Linked DNA regions of Homo sapiens: regions 1, 2, 3, 4, 6 and 7 are each linked to region 5. Evidence: promoter capture Hi-C in 16 types of primary human blood cells and fetal thymus (Javierre and others, 2016). All regions are on one chromosome and are shown on one strand. Each heading gives the region's core, a stretch centred on a gene start or on the middle of the fragment in contact. The rest is flanking DNA. Distances are from core to core; before and after follow the strand shown.

Region 1 (3,429 bases), core at 919-3,418, 390 kb before region 5:
GAATAATCTGAAGGGCCCATCCTGGGCCAGAGCCCAGGTGGCCTGACCTGGTCCAGCCCCATCCCCCCTGTGACTATAAATGGGTTTGCACGCAGTGTTTTCAGTTGCATTTGGAGTTCCTGACAGGCTCCTCTCTGCACACCCGATAAGGCTAAGGCCCCAGCGGATTCCGTCCCAGCCGTAAATCACCATAATCCCTGGGTATTTTCAAACACTGATTATGGCCCCTAAATTCAATTGGCAGATTGAGATATCCCTTCATTTATTCTTCCTGAATTTTTTTTTTTTTTGGTAAAGAGAGAGAGGGAGACACAGAGATTCATCCAGAGATCTCCTGAGGTGGGCGTGATCTCTCCACCTTCGTTCACTGCCTGTCCTCTGAGATACTCCCCTCTACCCCAGGTAGCCTCAGGATCAGCTTCCTTCCCTGCCTTCTCTTTCCTCTCCGCCCCACTTCCCGCCCCTCCCTCTCTCCATCACCTGCACCTTTACTGCACCTGTATCTTTCTGGGCTTTTCTCTCTCCCTTGACCTAGATCCTCTCACCCTTCTTGCTTTCCCTGGTCTTGGTGTCCTTCTCCCCGCTGCTGTCTCTCTTCTGAAGAAAGTCGCTGTCCATCTTGGTGGCTCTGAGGCTGGGCCAGTCTTTCCTGGGGTGACTGTCCCCCAAACCAATGTCTGATCTTTGGGGATTTTCTGCCAGGCCTGCCCCTGCCCCCTTTGTCTGAAGCCTGTGGTCAAAGCCCTCCCAATCTTACCTGCTCTGTGTTTGTTCCTTAGACCAGAGGCTTCCCAGGGTAGCTGGCACATAGTAGGTAAGCAGGTCAGGCCATGGATGGGTTGTGTCCCCAGACAGAGTGGAGGCAGGGGCTGGTGTCTCTCCCCAGTGGACGGTCCTCCCTGCCCTGGCCAGAATCCAAGCCCACAATGGTGCCCATGCCATGGCCCCAGCAGGCCCTCCTCCCTGTTATGGTGCCCATGCCACAGCCCCAGCAGGCCCTCCTCCCTGTTATGCTGGAGTTCTGCAGATCACCTCTTTCTTTGGGGCGCCCTGGCCCAAGCCCAGGCTGGTATCGTCAAGAATAACAGCTTCCTTCCTCCAGGGAGAAGGACCCGCCAGCAACTAAATAAACACAGGTTTTATGGGGTGATTAATACATGGAAAAAGAAGCTCCTATCCCAGTATCTCAAGGTCTCCTTGCTCCTCTCAGAAATGTCAATTCAGGAAGAGCAGCTGTGAGTCCCAGCAGGACTTGGCTGGCGGGCCAAGAGCCCACTTACAGGGTGCTCCAGAGCATCCCTTGGTGCCTACCACTGCCTAGGCACTAAGCGGGGGCAGGTGGGAGACAGAAGAATCAAAAACCCAGCCCCTCTCCTGGAATAATGTTTTCCCTGGGGGACACATCATATAACTGATGCAAGGTGGCCCAAGTTCAATTCTGCAATCAAGTGTGACCTGAAGAGTAAAACTGTGTGTATGTGTGGGAGGGGAGTGCAGCTAGAGAGCAATCCAGGAGGACTTCCTGTAGGAGACAAGTTTTAAGTCAGGAACTAAGTGAGGTGAAAAGAATGGATTGGTTGAGGAACAATTTAGGTCAGACAGGGGGGTGTCCACAGGTGCAGAGGTGGGGAATTGGCGGTCAGTAGGGGAGCAGATCCAGGAGGGGAAGGAATGAGGTAGAAAGGTAGTGGGTGACTTGTGGAGGTGAGGGGTGTGCACAGGTGTGGGTATGTGTATGCATCACAGGGGAGAGAGCCATGAGAGCTGAAAGCTTCCAGCAGCTTTTGTGCTGTCAAGTTGTTCAGTAAGAGGGACTGGCTGGTTGACAGTGGAGAAGTATGAGACCCAGAGATGGGGAGAGGCCTGCCCAAACTCTCCCAGCTGCTCATCAGCCAGGCCAGGCCTGGAACCCAGATCTCTCAGGCTGATCTGGGAGTAAGGTCAGAGGGAGGAGGCTATCAACACATCTAAATGGTGGGGCTGGGTCCGGGAGGGTTCTAGGAGGGGATGAGGTGGGGGCTCCCGAGGGCTTATGCATTCTATTCCATCCCTTGCCATGCACAGGTTCCCAGGTCTTGGTAAAAGACCCACGCCTGCCTACTGAGGAGAGAGCTGTATGGAGACTCTCAGGATGGGCTTCCAAGGGTCATGTGCTGCTGGGTGGGTTCTCCAGGCCCCCTGGAGATAGGGGCCTAGGTCAGGTCCCCTATCCAGGGTGTGCCTCAGCTTGGAGGTGCTGAGCATGAGTGATCCCCAGCCGAGGACCACACTGCCATCTGGGCCTTCTGCTTCCCAGGCTAAACCAATATTTACCCTCAGCTGTGGCTGCTAGGGGCCAAGAGGCAAATATTAGTTTAAGGAGCCTGAGCCAGCTGTTGGGCTGGGGGAAACAGCTGAGGCTGCCGATCATGATTTCTTCCTCTTTGATGATTTTCATTTCTTTTTGATTAAGAAAAAAATCTTGCTTTTCCTTCTGCTTCAGAGGGTTTTCTGGTGCTTCCTTTCTGCTTACCCCAAATTCTGCCAGCTATATCAGTGCCCCACACCAAACCCTCCCCTCCATTAGGAAGCTTTCCCAGACCTCCCTCATTCAAAATGACCCTTCCTCCTCCTGACCATCGGAAGCACTTGGAGACCTAAGTGGTATAAGCAGCTTTGAGTCATGTATTGTCCTGCTCTTTAAAGATCCAGCATATATCCTCTTTGTATATAAAGGAAGGTATTATTGTGCCCATTTTGTAGATAAGGAACAGAGGCTGAGAGAGGTCTGATAACCTGCCCAAGGTCACACAGCTGGCAGTTGGTGGAGCTGGGATTTGAACCCAGGAGCTTGGGCTACATTACCTTCCAGCTTCTCTAGATGTGAGTCCATCTGATCTCCCTATTAGGTCTGGATACCCGACAAGAGCGGGGACAGTGGCCCTCCTGTGCCTTCCAGAGTCGAGCTTACAAGAGCTCAAGGCATCAAGGATCAACTGCACATGTTGGGCACAGATAGGCCACCAGGGCCCCAGCAGTGCTGGTACAAGGAAGAGGGGCAGTGCAGCGCCCAGGATGCCAGATTCAGTGGGGAAGGTCGGTCTGCCTGCCTTATAGTTCCCCGGAGGCTCCCGAGGGCTTTGTCTGGTTCAGTTATTCCTGTGCACTCTAGTTTTCTACCACAATGAATATATATCAAGTTGAACCATATGTAATCACCAGTATTGGACTGTTTTTAACTTACAAGAAAGGCAATCTCATGTTTGCCCCTAGCATCTCTTGGGCCCAAGAGATTGTACTGGGGCCTTGGAGAGAGTGGTGGGGCTCAGGGTGGGGTGTATGTGGAGGGAGGAGCTCGGGCCTTGCAGTATTGGGGACAATGCCTTCATTTAAGATGCAGGAGACCCACTGAATCAAGGCTTGACTTGGCCACTCATTAGCTCTGGGCAG
Region 2 (3,485 bases), core at 558-3,057, 350 kb before region 5:
GCCTGGCACTTGAAGACACACTCTTTCCACTACATCCCACTGCGCTTACTAACAGTTCTTTGTTCCAAGGCTCTCAGCCTGCCACCAGCATCGCAGGCACCCCAAGCCCTGGCCCCTGATGCGTATCTACCTGCCCGAGGGTCTGGACACCAGGAAACCCCACCCACATGAACCAGGGACCCTGGCAGTGTTAACCTCTTAAAGCTGGGGCGTGAGCCACTCCTTGCAACTCACACTCCTCCCTGGAAGACGTTCACTGATCTGCCCTCTGCCCTCCCAGACTCTGCCATCCACCACCTCCACTGGGCATTCCTGACCAGGGAAAGCTGAAAGGCTTCCAGGCTAGCATGGACAGGAGCCCCATTTCCAGCCTCTGGCAATGCCCTGGCTGGACACTTTTGCCGGGCAGTCTAAATGTTTATGTCTGCCAATGCAGTGGCTGGGATGGATTTATTTAGCTTTGGAGTGCAGTGTGTTTCCGATTATAAACTGTCCAGCCAGGCCTCCAGGAAGGCTGGGATCTGCAGGCTTCCCTCCCTGCCCCTAGCCCCACAAAACTAGAAGCCCCAGCAGGGCTCTGGAAAACCCCTGGATCAAGAGGCTCTGCCGCAAGATAGCCAATTGATCGGGTGGCTATAGCGCATTCACAGAAAAGGAAGGAAAGGGGAGAAGAAATTCAGTACACATACCAGGCTGGATTCTCTGCGTGGTGGAGGTCTTGTCCGTAGGTTCGGGGAGCCTAGAGGAAGAGACATGGCTTCAGAAATCCTAGTCAGACGATGGGCAACAGTACCCATACCTGCCTTCCCTAGGTGAAACTAACTCCTGATCCTTCAAGTTCATGCTTTAGCTCAGCCTTTATGAAGGACTTGACACTCTAAGTCACTATGGGCACTGTGGTTGGGCTTTTTCAAGGGGAAACTATAGACCTTTACCTTGGCTGTGCTTCCAGGGGATCTATGAACACTCTAAAATTATGTGCACTTTTCAAAATGTGCAGCTATGTGGGCATTTTTCAGGGTAACGGGTGTATAGATTTATCAGGTTTTCAAAGTTAGGAGCAGAGACCATGTCTGTTTTTTGCTTACTATTAAATCCATAGAAGCTAGCATAATGCCAGGCAAGAGGAGGTGCCCAATAACTGTTTCCCAGCTGGTTCCCTAAAAGATTTCAGGCACGAGAGCTAACTTAACCCAGTGGAGCTAAACTAAAGAAACAGCTTTCCTCCAGATTTTAAGAATGGCTGGACACAAACAAAAGCTAGGTTCCTATAACATGGAAGTTTTAAGCCTCAACAAAAGGCATTATTGGGCCAGAGATGGAGGGTGCCAGACTGCCTGGAGTCTCCTGTAGAAATGAAGATGATTCTTGAAGAACGCCCTGTTGAAACTGCCTGTGTAGAGTGGTAAAGCCTTAGCTCCCAAGTCTCTTAGGTTTCCAGTAACGAGTGGAAAGTCATAGGGAAGGAGCTGCTAAGGCCCAGAAAGACGTTTCTCTACAGACTGTCACTCCATAGGGCAGCCCTGCATATAGCACCCACATTCAACAGCCCAGGGAAATGTGTTTTTTTGATTTTTTAAAAGTCAGCTACACATCATCTATCTTGATTTATAAAGCCTTTACCATAAGGAAAAGAAAACATTTCTTGCTCTTGGAACGCGTGTATCTGCAGAGTGACCATTGCTGGCTCTCCACTAGAGGAGGGAACGCTACCACCCACATCCTCATGTGATCTAGCTTCCGTGGAGCAGCTGGGAGCAGTTGAGTCATCATACTCCTCTGCCTTCTCCACTCCTGTGATGAGCATGACACAAGTTGACAGAGTGAGGGTCAAAGGCCAGTCTGTAGCCCAGGAGGAAAACGCCATGGGGGTCCTGTGCACCCCCCTGGCTTTCACGGCACCCATGCCCATTCTCTAAGGAGCTTTGCAGTGAGGACCTAGAGGTCAGCGAGGCTCTTACTGATCTGGGCCCGCTGAGGGGCAATCCTGGCCACAGCTGGAGAGCCCTGGGCCAGCCTGGAGACAGTCCTGTCAGGAACGCCCACGGCACTGCCATTGGAGGCATTGCAGAGGATGGGCAGGCTGATCTCCTTCTTGGCAATGGGGGCCTCATGGCCCTCGCCTTCGGCTGGTGGAGTTTCCTTGTCCCCAGACGCCTTCTTGTTCAGCAGGTTGCTGATCTCCATGATGTTCCCAATGATCTCCACTGGGCCGGCCAGGTTCTTCTTCCGGGTTGGCAGGTCATCCTTGGCCTTCTTCAGGTAGGATGCTGGCGCCCAGCCCTCTTTGCCCAGGTATCTGTGGGGAGGAGCAGGATGTGCTATCATTAGAGCACTCTGACCTCACAGCCCACTCCCAGGCCCTAGGATCCATCTGGCCTTGCCCAGTGGAGCCTTCCCTACCATGTTCTGCAAGGCTTGGCAATCCCACTACTCTGGAGAGAAATGGCACCGAGGGTAGATGGAAAAGACACCCAGAACACCAATTCCCACTGCCCCCCCACCATGCTCCTTTTTCTTTGCCTGATCCCTCTTGGGGTGGGCTCTCATGTTCTGCAAAGTCAGGCAAATGTGGGAGCTTGGGATCAGATTTATCAACTTTTGGGTTGCCCAAAGGAGGACTTCATAATGGCCTGCTACTTCCCAGTCAGTTGAGGATAATTAGAGAGATAAGAAGAAGGTGTGGATGTGGTATGTAGAGGTAAATGGCCTGTAGGAAGGGGAGGTATTATTAGAGAGGGAATTGACTCCAGAAGGTGAGAGTCAGGCAGTCTGAGTTCTAGTCTGTGGTACCTTGCACAAGTCCCTTCCCTGGAGCTCAGTTTGTGTCTCTTTTGCAAGATGCAGGGATAGAGTCGCTGCTAAAAATGTACCCAGAAGGACAGACATGTTGAGATCAACTAAGCTGTCTCCAACATCTTAGCTGGAATGGCTCCTCCATGCCAGATGACTGAATGGGACAGCTGTGGTGCCACTGCAGGGAGAGTAGGTGGATCCTCTATAGACTGTCACAGACCAAGTTCACAAACCAGGCTAAATTTACTGTAGTGGAACAAAGATGCATTATTCAATAAGTGATTTGGGGCTGGGCGAGGTGGCTTACACCTGTCATTACAGCACTTTGGGAAGCTGAGGCAGGAGGATCGTTTAAGGCCAGCCTGGGCTACATAGCAAGATCTCATCTCTACCAAAAAAAAATTTTTTTTTTTTTTAATTAGCTGGGTGTGATGGTGCATACCTGTAGTCCCAGGTGCTTGGGAGGCTGAGGTGGGAGGATTGCTTGAGCCCAGAAGTTTGAAGCTGCAGTGAGCTATGATCATACCACTGCACTCCACTCTGGGAGACAGAGTGAGACCCTGCCTCCAAAAATGTAAAAAGTGATTTGGGGAAAACTGATGACCCAGTTAGGAAAAACAAGTAAGACAGACACTGGCTTTATACCATATAGCAGAATTAACAAATAGAAGATTGACATAATGTTGGGG
Region 3 (3,369 bases), core at 453-2,952, 370 kb after region 5:
GGAGAGAAAGCAGTAGCAGCCCAGGGTTGCTTCCAAGCTGAGCCCCTCTTCCCAGGCAGTGAGTGTCCCACTGTGTTATGCACCTGGAAGTGAGTCATTTGATAATTGCGGGGCTTTGTATTTTTCCTAGGGACTTCCAGCAGAGGACTGCAAAGTGCTCTGAATATTATCAGGAACTGGTTGTTACTGTGCCTATTAAACAGAAAAGCAAACAGTGCTGGAAGGGAAAGCCTTTCCTTCCTTTCACCCTCAGATAGCTCAGGCCACACTCACAGAATCTCTTGGCAGAAGGAGTCTCCAAAGCTCACTAGGTCTGCTAATATCAGAGTGAGACAGCAGGAAGGGACCAGAAGTCTCAGGCCTGGAGTTGGTGGTCTGCTTGCTGTTTTCTCAGTATTGACACTTAAAACTTTGTGGGATTCTTTATGCCATCTGTATGTGTTCTGGGCTACAGTGTCCAGACAGACGCCTGAGGTGGCAGAAAGAGTCCAAGGCCCTGGGAGAGAGCAAATCTAAATTCGAATCTCTTCTCTGTTGTTGTCCGTTTGGGGCAAGTCCCTCTGAGTCTGTTCTTTCACCTGTAAAACTAGGATAACACCCACCTTGAAGGGCCATTGTGAGGAGGAGAAATAAATATGTGTAAACCCCTAGAATGGGGCTTTGCTCAGTAAATGAAGCCACTATTTTTTTTTAATAAGGCCATTCTACTTATATGAACAATGTCATATCCATAACGGTGGATTCTGCAGATTAATGATACTCTAATTTTTATTTATAAACCTGAAAAAGCTAGGTGCATACAAGAATTAGGGCAATGACTTTAGCCACCGAAATGCTGGACATCAGAAAAGCACCTGAAGTTATGCCTAGTTGCACAAAACAAAAACTTTAATCAGGTGCCTTCAAGTGGAAGGACAAGGCGATTCCTGAAACCTCTACAGAGACACCTACTATATCATCTAGTTTTTCATCTTTCTTCAGGGCAGGGAGTCCTCCCTTTCCTGCCTCTTTCGTCTCCTGTGCTGACATTTGGCAGCCCTTGCTTAGGAGAAGCAGCAGGCATCACCTGATAAGATGTGGCGGAAACACAGGTCACCAAGTTAAGAGCATCAGAACTGCTGAGTGACCTCAGCCTTGTAAACAGTGCCATCCCAGGGACAAGATGGACATCCATGGCTGCCCCCTCTGACTCCACTCCCAAATTAGCAAGTGTATCTCAAGCACACCCAACTGAAAGCATTCCATGAATTTAGTTTAACCCATCTAGAATTCCACAGGGAATGCTAAGTTGAGTGAGGTGAACTGTGAGACGGGATTCCTATCTCCAGTTGGTCCTGCCTCTTGGGGCAGTGGATTCCATACACTCTTCCTCTCCATGTGCATTTCATCATAACGCTCCACGAGGCCGCTGAATCCCTGGCACAGGCCATGCATAACAGATACACAATGGCTGCTCGATCAATGAAGCCCCCGTAATAAGGATGTGAGCATCCTATTTCTCACTCTCTTTTGTGGGGAGGCTGAAGAATGGAAAGTCACTTTTCTGATGGCCCCATCACTGCTCCAGCCTGCCCTTCCCCTAACCCTCCTTACAGATCCAGGCTGCAGGAGGACCCCTAAGGAGTCCCGTTCAGAGAACTGAAGGAGACTGCAGCTGTCAGCACTGCGCTCTCTGACCCAAGGCCTAAAGACCCACCACCAACTGACACAGCCCAGATCTGAGACTGCAGCACCTCCCTCTTCTATTCACCCTGCCGCTAACTGGGCCCATCCTCTCCCCAGCCTCTGAGAAACACACCTGTGAACGTTACACCTTCTATGTCCCTTCCCTTCAACATGCGTCTCACACTTGAGGCCGATTTTTCACCTCCCCGTCCGCCTTAGGGTGGAGGCGTTGCCCTGAGCAACAGTGATGTCACCTGCAGGGTGCTTCCGTTTCACTGATGTCACGGGGTGGGCCTAACAGATAGAGGGGGGATGTGCTCTCTGTGGGGAAACGTCACAGGTCCTAAACTGTTGAGGAGGGGTCTACAGGCCTCTGGGGCACTCCCAAATGACCCCTTTCCTCGCCCAGAAGAGCTCCTTACCCTTCCTTCCTCTCTGGATGCCTGTTAGAGCTCAGGCCTCAAATCTGACTTTCCCTCTGCCAGAGTCAGCCAAAAGATCAGGATGAGCAGCTCCAAACAAACTGCTGGAAAGACCACTGAGGATAGATGTCCTCCCCGTCTAGGACAGTCTAGGTCCCTACAGCCTTGTCCTTTGTCCAGACCTCAGAGGAGGGAGCAGTGACCTGATGGGGAAGTTGGGGCCCAAGTCGGCAGAGAATGCAGACCTCCAACCGACCTCTGCTGTCCTGAAGAGCGCACACTGGCCAGGTTTCCAGTCTGCGCCAGGCACGGTGCTCAGAGCCTTCTGTGCATCGTCTGGGTCAACCCTCCCCACAGCCCTGAGGGTCATCCCCATTTTACTGATGATGTTACCGAGACTTGAAGAATCAAGGCACCTGCCCAACTACTGAGAACGCCCAACCACCGAGTGGTGGAGCCAGGACTCAACTCAAGTCTGCCCCACTTCAAAGCCCGTGCAGTCACACCGCCTTGGCTCTGGGCACCTGGAGATGTGGCTCATTAAAGATGAGCCATGAAGGGCCTGGACAGAGACCAGAAAGAGCCCTTTAAATCTAAAGAGGCCAGCTGAGCAGGGCAGGCTGCCTGAGGCAGCCGAAGCAGGCACTGCTTTAGGAATGCTTCACCCCCTGGCCTACGCAGGGGATGCAACAACTGGCCAGCCTTGGCCCAGCCTCCATGCTGATTGGGGACCACGTGTCTTTGCTCTATGCTTGGCTTTCTATTGATCCATCCAGGTTACCGGATCATCCTCTTGATTTGCATATAGCACTTACTCTCATGGCCTGGCCCTACAACTCTGAGATTGTACAGTAGTTATCGAATTTACGCAAATGCAAATCTATGTCTCTGGGAGCTAATGCTTGCAAAGCACTAAACAAATAGGTAAATAAAATAAAAAATTACTACATTATGAGAGAGGAAAGGGAGAAATGCTACCAGGATTTCTCAGGGAAATACTGCCCTTGAGGCACTGGCCAAGGAGATGCCCATAGCCAGGCTGACCTGAGTATCCAGTCTACCTGGCAGCTATCTTTCTGCTGGTGAGAGGGCCGCAGAGGTAGACAAAGCCCTGCACTATTGGACATCACTGTCCCCCACCCTCACCCCATGCTGCTCCTGCCTGGTTCTGACTCCAGCTTTGATAAGCGCAGTCCACCTTCTGGTCTTTGGTTTCCCATATGGCTTGTCTAGGACGCAGGGAAGAGACGACATTCAGTCTGTGTGATGTTTGCGAAGTCTC
Region 4 (3,130 bases), core at 50-2,549, 390 kb after region 5:
CAGCGTAGGGCAGTAACTCTGGTACACAATCTTAAAGTGCTTGGTAAGTACCCAGGGCTTGTACTAGGCTACTGGGCATCGTTGTGCTCTTGGAAAACTGTTCATCTGGCCAGATGAGTTTGAAAATATCACACCCTCTAGATAGTTACAGCCTTCTAGGTTCATGACTTGGCTGGCGTACAGAGATTTTGTGAGAATAAAAAGTGCACACCTTTCTCCAGTAGGGCACATGGCACGGGAAAGAGAGTAGAGACAGTTTTTCAGCCTCCATTGCCCCATGGCTGGATGTGTTTGTGCAGGACGCAGCTGCATAAGCAAATGTCCCTGTGCATCCCTATAACTTTAACAATCTTACTCCTTGGCATATATTTCAGAGGAATTTGCACAGAGGTCCTTAAGGGACCACGGACAAAGACGATCATGGCTGTATTACTTGATGTATTGGAGAATTAGAGGCGGCCTTGTTACCTAACACCTGGGGAATGGAAGTGAAGTGTGGTAGATGCCCCTTATGAAACGCTGTGCAGTACTCAGAAGCAATGAACTATATGCTTGCCAATCGCAACGAGGACAGATCCTTAAAAAGAATGTTGAGTGAAAAAAGTAGAAAATAAGATAATCTCCAAAGTCCAGTAGCATTATTTAAACATTTTTAAAAAATACACTGATAAAAATTTTGTACATTTCCCAAAAATACATATGGAAGCACAGCAGCATGAATGCCTATGGGGTTGAGGATAGGGGTTGGGAGTAGGGATGGGGATAAAGGGGGAAAATAAAACCAGAGAGGAGTCTTACACATTTCATGAACCAAGGAGTATAATTATTTCAACTATTTGTACCTGAAGTCCAGAAAGAGTGGAGGCAGAAGGGGGAGAAGAGGGCGAAGAAACGTTTTTGGGAGAGGGGTCCCAGAAGAGAGATTTTCGCGATGTGGCGCTACATACGTTTTTCCAGGATGCCTTAAGCTCTGCACCCTATTTTTCTCATCACTAATATTAGATTAAACCCTTTGAAGACAGCGTCTGTGGTTTCTCTACTTCAGCTTTCCCTCCGTGTCTTGCACACAGTAGCTGTTTTACAAGGGTTGAACTGACTGAAGTGAGATTATTCCTCGTTGTCTCGGAAGGCAGAGTGTAGCCGCCAGTCCTTCCCTCATCCGGAACCTTCTGGTCCACATTTCCTTCCAAGCGTTAGTCCTCGGCTCTCCATGCTTGGCTCCCTAGTGTCACACACCGTCCTTTCTGGGTGGCCTCTTCCAATTCGCCCTCTTCTTTCTCCTGGGTGTCTCCATCTGCCCACACCGTGGGACTCCTCCCAGCCTCTCAGGGGCACCGCCCCCTCACTTCCTTGGCTCCGCCCCATTGGGATATATTTGCATATTTCTCTGAGGAACCCTGCCCAGGTGCCAGCCGCAGAAGCTCCTCCCCTTTCGAATTCCCGCTAGCGCCCCTAGAGGGCGTGTCCGTTGCCAGGCGACGGGCCGACGCGCCGAGCGCGGGTTTCCGCTCGGGGCGGGCGATAGAGACAGCGCGTCGCGCCTTTAGCTTCTTTCCCAGACTCCGGCCCAGCTCCTGCGATCTCCACAGCAGCCTCTGAGGCCGCCCCCAGAGAGCATCAGGATGGCTGAGGTCAGGAGTCAGCGCCCCTCTGTCGCCTTTCCCTTGACCCCTCCCCATTGTCCCTCTCCTACTGACGATTGTCACAAACGGTGATTCCAATATTTCCCCCCATCAACATCTTATTCCCCTGCACCCTCACTCACTCCCGCGCCTTTCTCCGTTGGCTCTGGCCTCTTTACCTCCTGTTTCTCCTTCATTTGTGTGGACACCCCACTATCCCCACTGTGGCATCGGCGCTATGCTAAGTGCGGTAGAAAATTAATGAATTCTGAAATCCACACGTGACATGCACCCAGCCCTAGATTTTTAGTCATGGAGTGATACCATAAGAGAGGCTCACACAGAAATATTGGAGATGTCTTATCTCACAGGGGAAACCGGGAAGAAAGCTTCACAGATGCCTGCTGTCATCCCAATCAATGGCCCTTGTCCACCTGTCACACCCTGATTTCCTAACATGTGATCACCTGCTGTCACACAGCTTCATTAAGGCTCTTCTGCCCATCACCTCTGCCCCGTGTGTTCATTGACTCCTGTGTTAACATCTCGTATCACCCCACCACTCCCCCATATTACAGTACACCCCATTTTCAGCCTCTCCAATGAGGGGTTATTTCTGCAACCCTTCAGTGACTCCCTGCCTGCCCCTTAGCCCCCTCACGTATAACCTCAAGAGCCTCGGGTCCCTGTCATTACTTGCCATTCACAGTCCCCATCCACTATGGCCCTACCCAAATCCTTCATGGCCCCATCAGAGCCCTTCCCCCATCACCCATCCCACGGTCTGTTCCAGCCAGGACCAGCTACATGATTTGCAAGGCCTGATGCAAAGTGAAAACACAAAGTCTCTTCAAAAATTACAAATAATTTTAAGACAGAACAGCAGAGCATTCAACCAAGAATGGGGCCTTTCTGAGCAAGGGGCCCTGTGCAACTGACCAGTTTTCACTCCCATGAAGCCAGCCCAAGCCCCATCATCTTTCAGCACCATCGTGCTCCACCCCCTCCCCACCCCATTCTAGTTACTCTCTTGCTTCCTCTGCACCATTCACATCCCCTCATCATTGCTTTTCCTCCATCTCCAGTCTAGCTTTATAAATTCCGTCTTCCCGTGGTCAACACCTCCTTCCTTTCCTTATCATACGATCTCTTTCATATCATCCATCTTCCTCACGCCTGGGCTCCATCACTCACATCTCTCTCTGACATCCATGCTGCTGTGGCCACTTCACTTCTCCCCATTACCCATAGTCATTTGTATCTCTTTCTTCCCATTTCCTTTCTTGTTCCTTCTAGTTCTTTATTGTCCCATTATTGCTTTTGAGTGTTTTCTCCTCTTTTCTCCCACCAGTCATCTTTGTTTATTTCATTCTTCATTCCCCATAGGGAAGCCCCAGCCTCCCAGAGGCACCAGCCCCTCATTTCCTTGGCTCTGCCCTATTCAGGATATATTTGCATATTTCTGTGAGGAACCCTGCCCAGGTGCCGGCCTCAGAAGCTGCTCCACT
Region 5 (3,437 bases), core at 836-3,335:
TCTACTTTTGGCAATTTATCCTAAGGAAATAATCAAATATGTGGAAAAAGATTTGTGTACAAAGATATTTATCCGTATTTTATTAAAAACAGAGGAATTATAATCTAAATATCTCATAATGGAAGAGAACAATTATTAATTGTATTGAAATATGCGAAGTGCAGGATGCAAACCTTTTTATGTAATACAACCTCAACCATGTTGAAAAAAGTTAATGCACAACCAAAAAAATCCTGTTTTGAAATATAAGTTCTTATCAATGGTTGTGTCTGGATAGTAGAATTATAGTACTTTTAATTTAATTTTATTTTTTAAGCATTTCATTTTCTCCATAAATGATAATAATTACAAATAATTATAGTATTGTTTTCACAGGTCTATACATTTGTCAAAACATATAAAAGTGCACACTTGCAGCAAACCACCATGGCACGTGTATACCTATGTAACAAACCTGCACGTTCTGCATGTGTATCCCAGAACTTAAAGTATAATTTTAAAAAAAAGCAAACAAGTACTAGCAAAAAAACCAAATGCACACTTTAAATATGTACAGTTTATTGTATATCAATATATTGCAATAACACTTAAAAAAATAGAAGGATCTCAAGGAATTGAATCATCTTAAGCGTCTTACTGGAAGGGGGGTTTTGCTATGCCATTTTGGGGCTGAAGGGCAAAATGACTGGGGGGGCAGACATTATATAAATAGCAATATATACATACATTGTCTCTGCTCCAGATACCGCCATTCATTCATTCATTCACCAGATCTGCCTTCCTATTATATGCCAGGAATGTTGCCGGGTACTTGGATATCTTGATGAACAACAAACCACTGGCCTGAAAGAGCTCCCGTCTGGTGGAGGAGGGGAAGGTAGGTCACCACCTGACGGATTCCAGCCAACGTCCACACTGCCCCACCAGGGAGTGCTGCCCAAGGGGGCTGGAGGCAGATCAGGAAGTGGGGGCCTTAGCTGAGGTGGAGTCACCAAGAGTGACACCAGGTTTACAGTTGTGGAGGTGGCCAGAAGTTAGTTTTACCCTCAAGGGAGTGTCGCAGTCATCAGTTGAGAAGTGGGGGCCCGGCGCGGTGGCTCACGCCAGTACTTTGGGAGGCCGAGGCGGGCGGATCACGAGGTCAGGAGATCGAGACCATCCTGGCTAACACGGTGAAACCCCGTCTCTACTAAAAATACAAAAAAATTAGCGGGGCGTGGTGGCGGGCGCCTGTAGTCCCAGCTACTCGGGAGGCTGAGGCAGGAGAATAGCGTGAAGCCGGGAGGCGGAGCTTGCGGTGAGCCTAGTTCGCGCCACTGCACTCCAGCCTGGGCGACAGATCGAGACTCCGTCTCAAAAAAAAAAAAAAAAAAAAAAAAAGAAAGAAAGAAAAAAAAGAGAAGTGGTCTTAAACAGTTTTTATGTATCTGTGTCTATCTTGCCTGCACACTTAAAACAACAAGAGTAAGAACTAAGATTGAGCGTTTACGGGTGCAGGGGCCGCGCAAAGGGCTTCCATCTATTGTCTCATTCACAACCTTCTGGTAGGGACTATTAGGATCTTCATTTTACGGCGAGGAAACCGAGGCTCGGAGAGGTCACCTGCCCAAGGTCACAGATCTCTCTCTCCAAAGCTCAAGCTCACAACCACCACACAAACTCCCCTCTCACTGTACCTGGGGCCCGTCTGAGAGCGAAAAAGTCCGCTTTCAGGTCCCAACCCTAACAGGTCCGGCTTTCACTCCACAGTTTTTCCCAGATCCAGAATGGAGACAACATCCGCTAGCACAATCAACAGGGTCGTCCCACGGGGGCCGCTCCATCAAGGCCGTGGACTGACAGGATTTGGGGCTTGGAGGGCAAATGAGAAACAATCGTCAGGGACCGAAGAACAAATGCGTCCATCACACCAGCCCCCCGCACCCCGAGCCCCGTGCTCCGCTCACGCGAACCCTCGGGGGCAGCCAGTCTGAGGGACGTAGCGCGCGTGCGCGGGGCCAGAGGGGACGCCCCCACGCGAGCGCGCGGTGAGCAGGGCGCGTGACCGGGCGGGCGCGCAGCCGGGAAAGCGCGCGGGCGCGCTACGGAGTCGGCGTCGGCGCGCGCTCCAGGCCGAGGCTGTGTGGGCTGGGGAGGGAGACAGGCGGCGGCGGCGGCGCCCCAGACCCGAGGGGACGCGCGGGCCTTGCGCCGCGGGAGCGGACGGCGGCGGAGGAGACCCTAGGCTCGCGGCCCGAGGCGGGAGGGCTCGGCTTCTCGACTGCCCGCCTCCGAGGCCGCCGGCCGCTTCTCTCTCCCAGAGTGGCCGCCGCCCCTGGAGACTCGCCGTGACACGGGCCTAAGCCGCCGCCGCGGGAGTCCTGACCGCTCGGACCCGTCGGATCAGGCCGGGTGGGAGCGAGCTTGCGGGCAGGTGCCGCTCCCGGAGGGTGGGCCGGAGGCGAGGCGCCCACCGCGCGGCTCGCGGGCCGGGCTCGGCGGAGGGGCCGCTCGCGCAGCACCCCCACCGCGGGCCGGAGCCCGGGTCGCCGCCCCGCCTTCTCCCGGGACCGCCCGGCCGGAGCTGCGGGGGCCGAGGGACGCCGCGCCCGCCGCCGCCAGCCGGGCTCGCGCGGGAGAGCAGGGAAGAGAAACTTTGCCTTTTATTGTTTTTAGTCCTTAAGTGCAAGGAACTCTGTGTTGGGAGGAAAAATGTCCTTCTTCAATTTCCGTAAGATCTTCAAGTTGGGGAGCGAGAAGAAGAAGAAGCAGTACGAACACGTGAAGAGGGACCTGAACCCCGAAGACTTTTGGGAGATTATAGGAGAACTGGGCGACGGAGCCTTTGGGAAAGTGTACAAGGTAAGAGGGGGAAAACGGGAAGTTGTACTGCGAAGGTAAAACAGCCACTGGCCTGGAGTGGCGGGAGGACTTCTGCTCCCCTGGTCCTTATCCTGTCCTTCTTTTGACTGTTACGGTTCGATGCAACTTTACTTGGCTGATCATCCAAGGAGTAGCTAAGAAGTCGGGTTTACGGTGGAACAAAATGGGGCCTGGATGGAGTTTAAAGAGCGATTGGAAAAGGAGACAGGGTTATAAAGTCTACTCTTTCAAACTTCAAAGGAAATGAGAGTGTTCTTTAATTTATAGGAGGGGTCTGGTTGTGCCCTTCAAGTATTTTAGAATGAGAAACTCATTGCACTTTGCAGTGGATTTGTCTACTGACTGCATTCGCGTGCATGCTTGTACTCCAACAGTTCTGTTTTTAGGGTCCAGTATATATATTTGGTTGTATCTAGAGCTAATACAGAACTAGTTGGGATCAAAGTGATTGCTACTTGCAGTCTCTTCTTGAGTTAGTTGCTTGACAGCATACTATAAAATAGAATGGAATTTCTGACAAAATTTCCAAAAAACCTTCATGTGGTACTAGTTTTAAATATATTTATGGTAAGCAT
Region 6 (3,051 bases), core at 539-3,038, 340 kb after region 5:
CTCTGTCCCGTGAGGTGGAGATGAGACGGACCACGAAAATGTTCTGAATCACAGCCTTGGGGTGGCTTGAGTTAAGACTTCCTGGACATTCACCAACCACTGCCAGCTGCCACCAACCCTGCTCGGGAAGCCGGCCATGTACCCTACAGCACAGGACATGGATGGCACTGATCACATAGATAAGGACTCCTTAGTTTGGGGGTGAATCAAGTTACTGTCTCACTCAAAACCCGCCAATGGCCCACCTCTGCTTGTTGTGAGGTCCAAATTTACCTTGTATTAGCATTCAAGGCTTTGCATGGTTCAGCCCCACTCTTATCTTTTCAACCTCATTTGCTACGACTTCTCAGTATATGCCAACATGTACACCAGGACTGCCTGGGTTGGAATCTGGGCTGTGCTACTTACCACTGTGACAGTAGGTAAGTCAGTTGCCCCTTCAGTGCCTGTTTCCTTATCTGGAAAGCAGGGAGGATAAGAATAGCACCTACATCATAGGACTGACATGGAACTGTGTGCATTAACAAATGTGTGTGCGGAACGGTGCCTGCCATACAGTAGGTGCTTCCCACCCTCACTCCATGCTTCTGGCTGGAATGTCTTTCCTGGCCACAGTCCTGGTCATTTTTCAGAGTCTCTATCTGGCAGCGCCCCACCATGAGGCCTTCCCTAATCAGCCCAGGTACCAGTGGTTCTTGGACATCCAGAATCAGGTGGGGAACTTGGTGAAGTGCAGATTCTTCTACCTAACTTCTCAGGATCCCACTGGAGTCTGTGACACGGCCCAGGAAGCTGCCCCCAGGTGACACCCGTATGTGTAGTGCAGGGTCACACTTGGAATAGCTCAGTACTTGGAAGGCCACCTTCTGCTGCCTCTCCTAGGGAACAGGCTTGGTCCTATTCATTTTCCCATCTTCCACAATGTCTCATGCACGTTAGGCTCCTGACAAATGCTTGTGGACTATTCATGACCTGCTTGGGAGAAGGGCTCACCATCTTATGCCTTCCCACCCTCTCTCTGAGGCTTACGGCACTAGCGTGAATGTGGGTGCCCTCATGAGAAGCTTGTGGTGTAGCTGATGCCACTTAGACCACAGATTCCAAGCAGGCTCATTGGCTTTTCCCAGGTCTATCTATCTTCCAATAGATCTGTAGGGAAAGTAGTCCACTTGGGTTTTCTTTAACTTTCCATTAAGAAAGAAAGTGAGAGGGCTTCCTCAGCTAGGGGTACCATCAGTCACTTGGGGGAAATCTTTAAAAATCGAGCCTAGCCTGACCACTCCAGACTGGATTCTGAGCACCATGTAGGTTCAAGGCGGGGTCGGGGCAATGGACCAGGTTGTCTGGGTGATTCGGATGACACCCTTGATGATGAACCAGAGCTCCACCCCCAGGTTCTCAACGGGGGCTGTGCTTCAGCCAGGCATGCAGAGGGGCTAGAGCTTTTGAGGATATAAGGCCCTTCCCCAACATAACCAGCCTCTTGGCCTAGGGGCCAACTCTATTCATTTCACCCTTGTTATTTTGCAAAGCAAGTGAGCAGTTGCTGGGGAAAGTCAAGCATCCTTGGGAAAGAGACTCTGGGGAAAGAGGGCAGGGTTGTCCTTAGTGGAAAGGCCAAAGTCCCCTAGAGGACTCAAAATCCTCTATTTAAAATACAATCTCTTTCTTTAAAACCCAAAAGCTTCCTGTTAGTTCCAGCTCCTATATTTCTCGCTGACATTAGCTCTGTGAAATAAGGTCTTAGGCTGGAATCCACCCTACAGCCAGCTTTCAAAGGCCCTTTCTGGAGCCCTGCGGGCAGCACACAAGTTGCCTCAAAGACAGGGTAGAAATGTTCTGTTTTGTTATTTTTTAAAGTCTCCTGAAAGTGTAAGAATAAAAAGGGAGTGAAAGCTTCTGCTTTGTCAATAGGAAATCCACCCCCCTGTCCCCAACTCTGCCCTGGGAGCCTCACAGATTTCCTGAAGTTAAAAACAAACAGTGACCATTTCTACTCCTTGCAAGATTTAATTCTTCCTTTAATATAAATAAGGCAGCATGAAACACCAAGAGCCCCACTGCTTTCTGCTTTAGAAGCAGCTTTGGTGCAGAAAAGATTCCCGTTTCCCCACCGAGTTCTGTTGTCTCTGTACACACAAGAAGCCAGAAGATATTTTTTTTTCAGTGAACTTTCTCCTGGAAGCAAAGGAGAAGCTATGGGAGATCCAGGCATGGTTTTGGCTTCTGGAGGCTGTTTTTTGGTTACTGGGGTCTCTTCAAAGCAAAACGGGATCAGGATGAAGAGGGGGAAAGGCATGGGCCATAAATAAATAAGGAAATTTGCCCCGATTCTACAAATGCATCTGATGGAATGAGGAGGGTCAGGCTGTGAGGGATTGGGGGTAGCTCCAGGCTGCTGTTAGGGACACACTTGAGCTGGTTCATTCCCTGGAGTGCCCCGCAACTGCGTCTAGGGAGAGGCAGGCCCAAGCACATGTTCAGTCTAATTCCAGCTCACACTGGAAGGCTTCCTATAGGTTTGGTTGCCCTGATCACAGCCGAGCTGCCCCACCAGGAATTAACCCTGGTGGGCAAAGGGTCCATCTTCTCAAGCTTTCTGAGGCTGGTTGAGAGCACTCCTGGGGATGGGGGAAGGATCTCCTTCCTTCAGTTTGTGGGGTAACTGGGCACCCCTGTCAAGTTGGTTATGCTCTCGGGAAGGCATGGCCGGCTTAAACCCTGGAGGAACACGGTATATTCTTGACTCCCTGGCCCCCTGCAAGGGTAACTGAAGTAACGGTGAGATAGGAAATCTCAAAGGGCCAGTGAAGCCACAGGTGGAAAAGAGCCTTCCTGATCCCCCTGAACCAGACCTGGAGACGGAGCCCAGCTCCAACCACAGAGCTTCTGCCAGGCTCTTTGGGTCTGGGTCATCTGTGTGGTCAGCAGTGCCCACACAGAAGGGGTGGGTTCTGTGCAGTGAGGGAGCCCCGCTGGAGTGAGGAACTAGGGGCTCAGAGCCTGCAGACTGGAGCTAGGTTTCCATAGTTCTTGCTTCCATGCACACCC
Region 7 (3,251 bases), core at 125-2,624, 310 kb after region 5:
AACTGGTGATCCTTAAAGGGAGTATTTCTCCAGCTTCAGGTAAAAAGTAATGGAGTGCGAAGATTATGCATAGAAGGTGATGCTTTTTTATTATTTTTTTTTTGAGACGGAGTCTCGCTCTGTCACCCAGGCTGGAGTGCAGTGGCACCATCTCGGCTCACTGCAACCTCTGCCACCTGGGTTTAAGCAATTTTCCTGCCTCAGCCTCCTGAGTAGCTGGGATTACAGGCGCATGCCACCACACCCCCTAATTGTTGTATTTTTAGTAGAGATGGGGTTTCACCATATTGGCCAGGCTGGTCTTGAACTCCTGACCTCAAGTGATCTGCCTGCCTCGGCCTCCCAAAGTGCTAGGATTACAGACGTGAGCCACTGTGCCTGGCCAGTGATGCTCTTTAGAAGCATAAGAGTGCCTGCTGTCCAGGAAATGTGAAGAATAGATAAATGGTGGCAGCTTTGATAATGAAAGAAAAAAGAATGGAGAAATTTTAAGATGGTGTCTTTGAAAAGGAATTTTTAAAAACCTCAATGATATTAACAGCTGACATATATCGAACACTTATGATGTGCCAGGCACTGTCCTAGTTACTTTGTAGGAGCTAACTCATTTAATCCAACTGCCCTTTGAAGTGGGTACTGCTATCGTATCCATTTTTCAGATGAGAACACTGAGGCTTAGAGAGGTTGAGTGTCCCACCTAAGAATGTATAGCATGGAAGCAGCTGATCAAGTAAGGAGCACTGGAGAAACCCTCCTAAAGCACCCTGCTTTCCCAGGGTACTATAAGAAGTAGATTCCTACTGAGAACCGGAACCACAGAGAAAACCTAGTGCCTCTCACAGGGAGCTGGGGGGTCTGATGTGGGTGTTGCCCTGTTAGGCTGGAGTTATAAAGCTTCGCTGCCTTTTCAGGCAGAACAGGAACTGGAAGTTTCCACAGACTTCTCCACTGAGAACCTGTGTCCTCTGATTAGGTCCCACATTTGACCAAGGAGTGCCTGGTAGCGTTGAGATGTGGGAGAGAATGCACTAATCTGAAGGCAGCCCTGCGTCAGGAATTCAGCAACCTGGAAGAGGTACAAAAAGGGGTCCCTCTCCTGGTCAGCTACAGTGGAGGAAGCTAGGCAGGGTCGCTAACCTGGTCACTCTAACACCAGCTTTCACAGGCTTATTCTTTCTGCCTTTGATAAGTCAGACTTCTGATCATCTGATTGCATGTTTGCCCTCCTCTAACCTGGTCTAGAATTATTCTGGAAAATCTGATGAGGAGTTGGGGAGGACATGCCATGAATTGCTTCCTTTCCCAGAGTCACCCCATCTCCCTGAGTAGCTCTGCATGGCTTCTGTAGCTTCTGCCAATGAGGTCAAGGTCTGTAAAGGTTAGGGGTTGTGTTTGGCTGCTGAAGTCTAACTACTGTAAATTCATGTTGTAAGGGTTTACTCTCTCACATAACATTCTTTCTCACGTATTATAAGGGTTTATTCTCACACATACGGTGGCTCACACCTGTGATCCCAGCACTTGGGGAGGCTGAAGCAGGAGGATCACTTGAGCCTAGAAGTTTAAGACCAGCCTAGGCAACATAGCAAGACCCCTCCTCTACAAAAATAATTTTAAAAATTAGCCAGGCATAACGATGTATACCTGTAGTCCCAGCTACTTAGGAGGCTGAGGCAGGAGGATTGCTTGAGTCTGGGAGGTCAAAGCTGCAGTGAGCCATGATTGCACCACTGCACTCTAGCCTGGGTGACAGAGTAAGTAGGACTGACAAAAAAAAAAAAAAAAAAAAAAAAAAGCCAGAGGTAGGCAGTTCAGGCCTATCTTGATGGCTTCTTCATGACATTATCAGGAACTGAAGCTTTTTCTCTTTATGGGCTCTGTCATCCTTAGCACAACTTAGTACAAGGGTATCATCCTCAAAATAACAAGATAGCTGCTGTCACTGCAGCCATCACATCCAAGTTCCAGGCTCTGAAAAGGAGAATATAAAGAAAAAAATGGCAAATGGTCATACCCCTTTAAAGGGCTTTAAATCCTACCAGAAATTCTACTCAATGGCTATTTACATTTCGTTGGCCAGAACTTAGTTGTGGGGTCATAACTATCTTAGAGAAAGCTGGGAAATACAGTCTTTTAGCTGGGATACCCTGAATAAAATCAGAGGTCTGTAATTAAGGAAGAAGGGGGAAATGGGTGCGGTGGCAGGAATACTCTTTGCCAGTAGATGCTTCATTAACCTGGCAGTAATGGAGCTACTTATCCTGTACTTCTAGAATAATCAGGAAGGCAGTTCTTTTACTTCCTTTATTTTTGCTCCAGAAACTGACAAATTCACCTTATGGGTGGGTGGTTCCTCTATTGGCAGCCAGAGAATACAATTTTTTTCCCCTTAAGGGAAGACTGGTTATTAATACTCTTCCATTTGACCTTTATCAAGTGGAAACAGATTAAATGTATTGATATTTCCAGTTGCCTATCTCAAATTTGTACGATTAAGTATTTATGGATGACGAATGGTCATGTGTAGGAAATGTCAACCTTTTGTCCTGAGGTCACCAACTGTGGCCTTGACTCCAAGGAGGCCATATGATGTGGTGGAAAGAATCTTGGATCTTAGGCTTGGCTTTACTGAATTCCAGAACCTTGGGCAATGTTCTGTACCTCTCTGGGCCTTGGTTTTCCCATGTGTAAAATGAGGGATTATTTTGAAATGTGTGTTCCTCAGAGCCTCTGGGTTCTGCAGGGGACTGCCCAGTGAGTGGAGGCCTGGTAGATTGTTCTAGACACTGCTTTACTTAGGTCAGCACTGCCTTCAACCACCATGTTCAACCTGACATCTAAGAAGATGGCATTTGGGGAGAGAGGAGAGCTGCTGCTTTAAAAAAGAAGTTCGAAAATCTTGTGAATAGAGAATTTATAGTCTATTTTAAAGATCAGCTGAATGGACCCCATCATGCCTGGTTACCTTCTCACAGATAAACAAATACTGGACCAGGGAAAGGAGCTGGGAAAAAAAAAACTCTTTGAATTCAACGATACAGTAATTGAAACATTTTCATCAGTTTCCCTTCTACCTCCATTTGGATGATGGATGAACTTTTTAAATTACAGATTGCTAGATGAAAGTATAGGGTTATGATGGAGATACAGTTCTTCTTCAGTCGGGGGTCTTTTCCAGGGCAAATGAACCAGTATTTTGTGCCATGAATCGTGCTGCAGATACTTGCATACATCATCTCATTCAATCTTTC

The links. Contacts are between HindIII fragments. The CHiCAGO score rates a contact against its expected background, and 5 or more counts as called.
Region 1: a contact is called between a fragment that was not itself captured here and the fragment with the promoter of SLK in region 5, in 6 of 17 cell types (naive CD8 T cells, non-activated CD4 T cells, total B cells and 3 more). The highest score is 10.3, in naive CD8 T cells.
Region 2: a fragment that was not itself captured here is called in contact with the fragment with the promoter of SLK in region 5 in 1 of 17 cell types (M0 macrophages); the score reaches 5.4 in M0 macrophages.
Region 3: a contact is called between a fragment that was not itself captured here and the fragment with the promoter of SLK in region 5, in 2 of 17 cell types (activated CD4 T cells and fetal thymus). The highest score is 5.7, in activated CD4 T cells.
Region 4: a contact is called between the fragment with the promoter of CFAP58-DT here and the fragment with the promoter of SLK in region 5, in 2 of 17 cell types (fetal thymus and neutrophils). The highest score is 6.8, in fetal thymus.
Region 6: a contact is called between a fragment that was not itself captured here and the fragment with the promoter of SLK in region 5, in 2 of 17 cell types (fetal thymus and total B cells). The highest score is 5.6, in fetal thymus.
Region 7: a contact is called between a fragment that was not itself captured here and the fragment with the promoter of SLK in region 5, in 1 of 17 cell types (fetal thymus). The highest score is 5.4, in fetal thymus.

Annotation. Positions count from the first base shown.
Region 1 is chr10:103,574,714-103,578,142 of GRCh38, forward strand. All of the region lies in intron 3 of NEURL1 (neuralized E3 ubiquitin protein ligase 1), which reads left to right. Among named protein-coding and RNA genes, the nearest start is that of NEURL1-AS1, 59 kb to the left of the region's middle. The HindIII fragment of the contact is 799 bases long and covers 1,770-2,568 here.
Region 2 is chr10:103,610,892-103,614,376 of GRCh38, forward strand. It overlaps SH3PXD2A (SH3 and PX domains 2A), which reads right to left. Exons shown (of 15, transcript NM_001394015.1): 12 at 1,962-2,299; 13 at 690-739. Among named protein-coding and RNA genes, the nearest start is that of NEURL1-AS1, 95 kb to the left of the region's middle. The HindIII fragment of the contact is 3,758 bases long and covers 1-3,485 here.
Region 3 is chr10:104,331,540-104,334,908 of GRCh38, forward strand. The region is part of intron 1 of ITPRIP (inositol 1,4,5-trisphosphate receptor interacting protein); the gene reads right to left. Among named protein-coding and RNA genes, the nearest start is that of ITPRIP, 5.2 kb to the right of the region's middle. RefSeq lists a silencer at 1-206. The HindIII fragment of the contact is 5,024 bases long and covers 1-3,369 here.
Region 4 is chr10:104,352,276-104,355,405 of GRCh38, forward strand. It overlaps CFAP58-DT (CFAP58 divergent transcript), which reads right to left and starts at 1,300. Exons shown (of 2, transcript NR_108036.1): 1 at 843-1,300. It overlaps CFAP58 (cilia and flagella associated protein 58), which reads left to right and starts at 1,558. Exons shown (of 18, transcript NM_001008723.2): 1 at 1,558-1,631. The coding sequence starts at 1,623. RefSeq lists an enhancer at 1,228-1,287. The HindIII fragment of the contact is 7,343 bases long and covers 1-2,009 here.
Region 5 is chr10:103,965,055-103,968,491 of GRCh38, forward strand. SLK (STE20 like kinase) reads left to right here and starts at 2,086. Exons shown (of 19, transcript NM_014720.4): 1 at 2,086-2,841. The coding sequence starts at 2,692. It overlaps LOC102724351 (a long non-coding RNA gene), which reads right to left and starts at 1,991. Exons shown (of 5, transcript XR_007062282.1): 1 at 727-1,991. RefSeq lists silencers at 1,948-2,407, 2,448-2,497, 2,508-2,607. The HindIII fragment of the contact is 5,644 bases long and covers 1-3,437 here.
Region 6 is chr10:104,310,141-104,313,191 of GRCh38, forward strand. It overlaps ITPRIP (inositol 1,4,5-trisphosphate receptor interacting protein), which reads right to left. Exons shown (of 2, transcript NM_001272013.2): 2 at 1-3,051. Among named protein-coding and RNA genes, the nearest start is that of ITPRIP-AS1, 12 kb to the right of the region's middle. The HindIII fragment of the contact is 212 bases long and covers 1,683-1,894 here.
Region 7 is chr10:104,278,397-104,281,647 of GRCh38, forward strand. GSTO2 (glutathione S-transferase omega 2) reads left to right here. Exons shown (of 7, transcript NM_183239.2): 5 at 974-1,075. Among named protein-coding and RNA genes, the nearest start is that of GSTO2, 11 kb to the left of the region's middle. The HindIII fragment of the contact is 964 bases long and covers 893-1,856 here.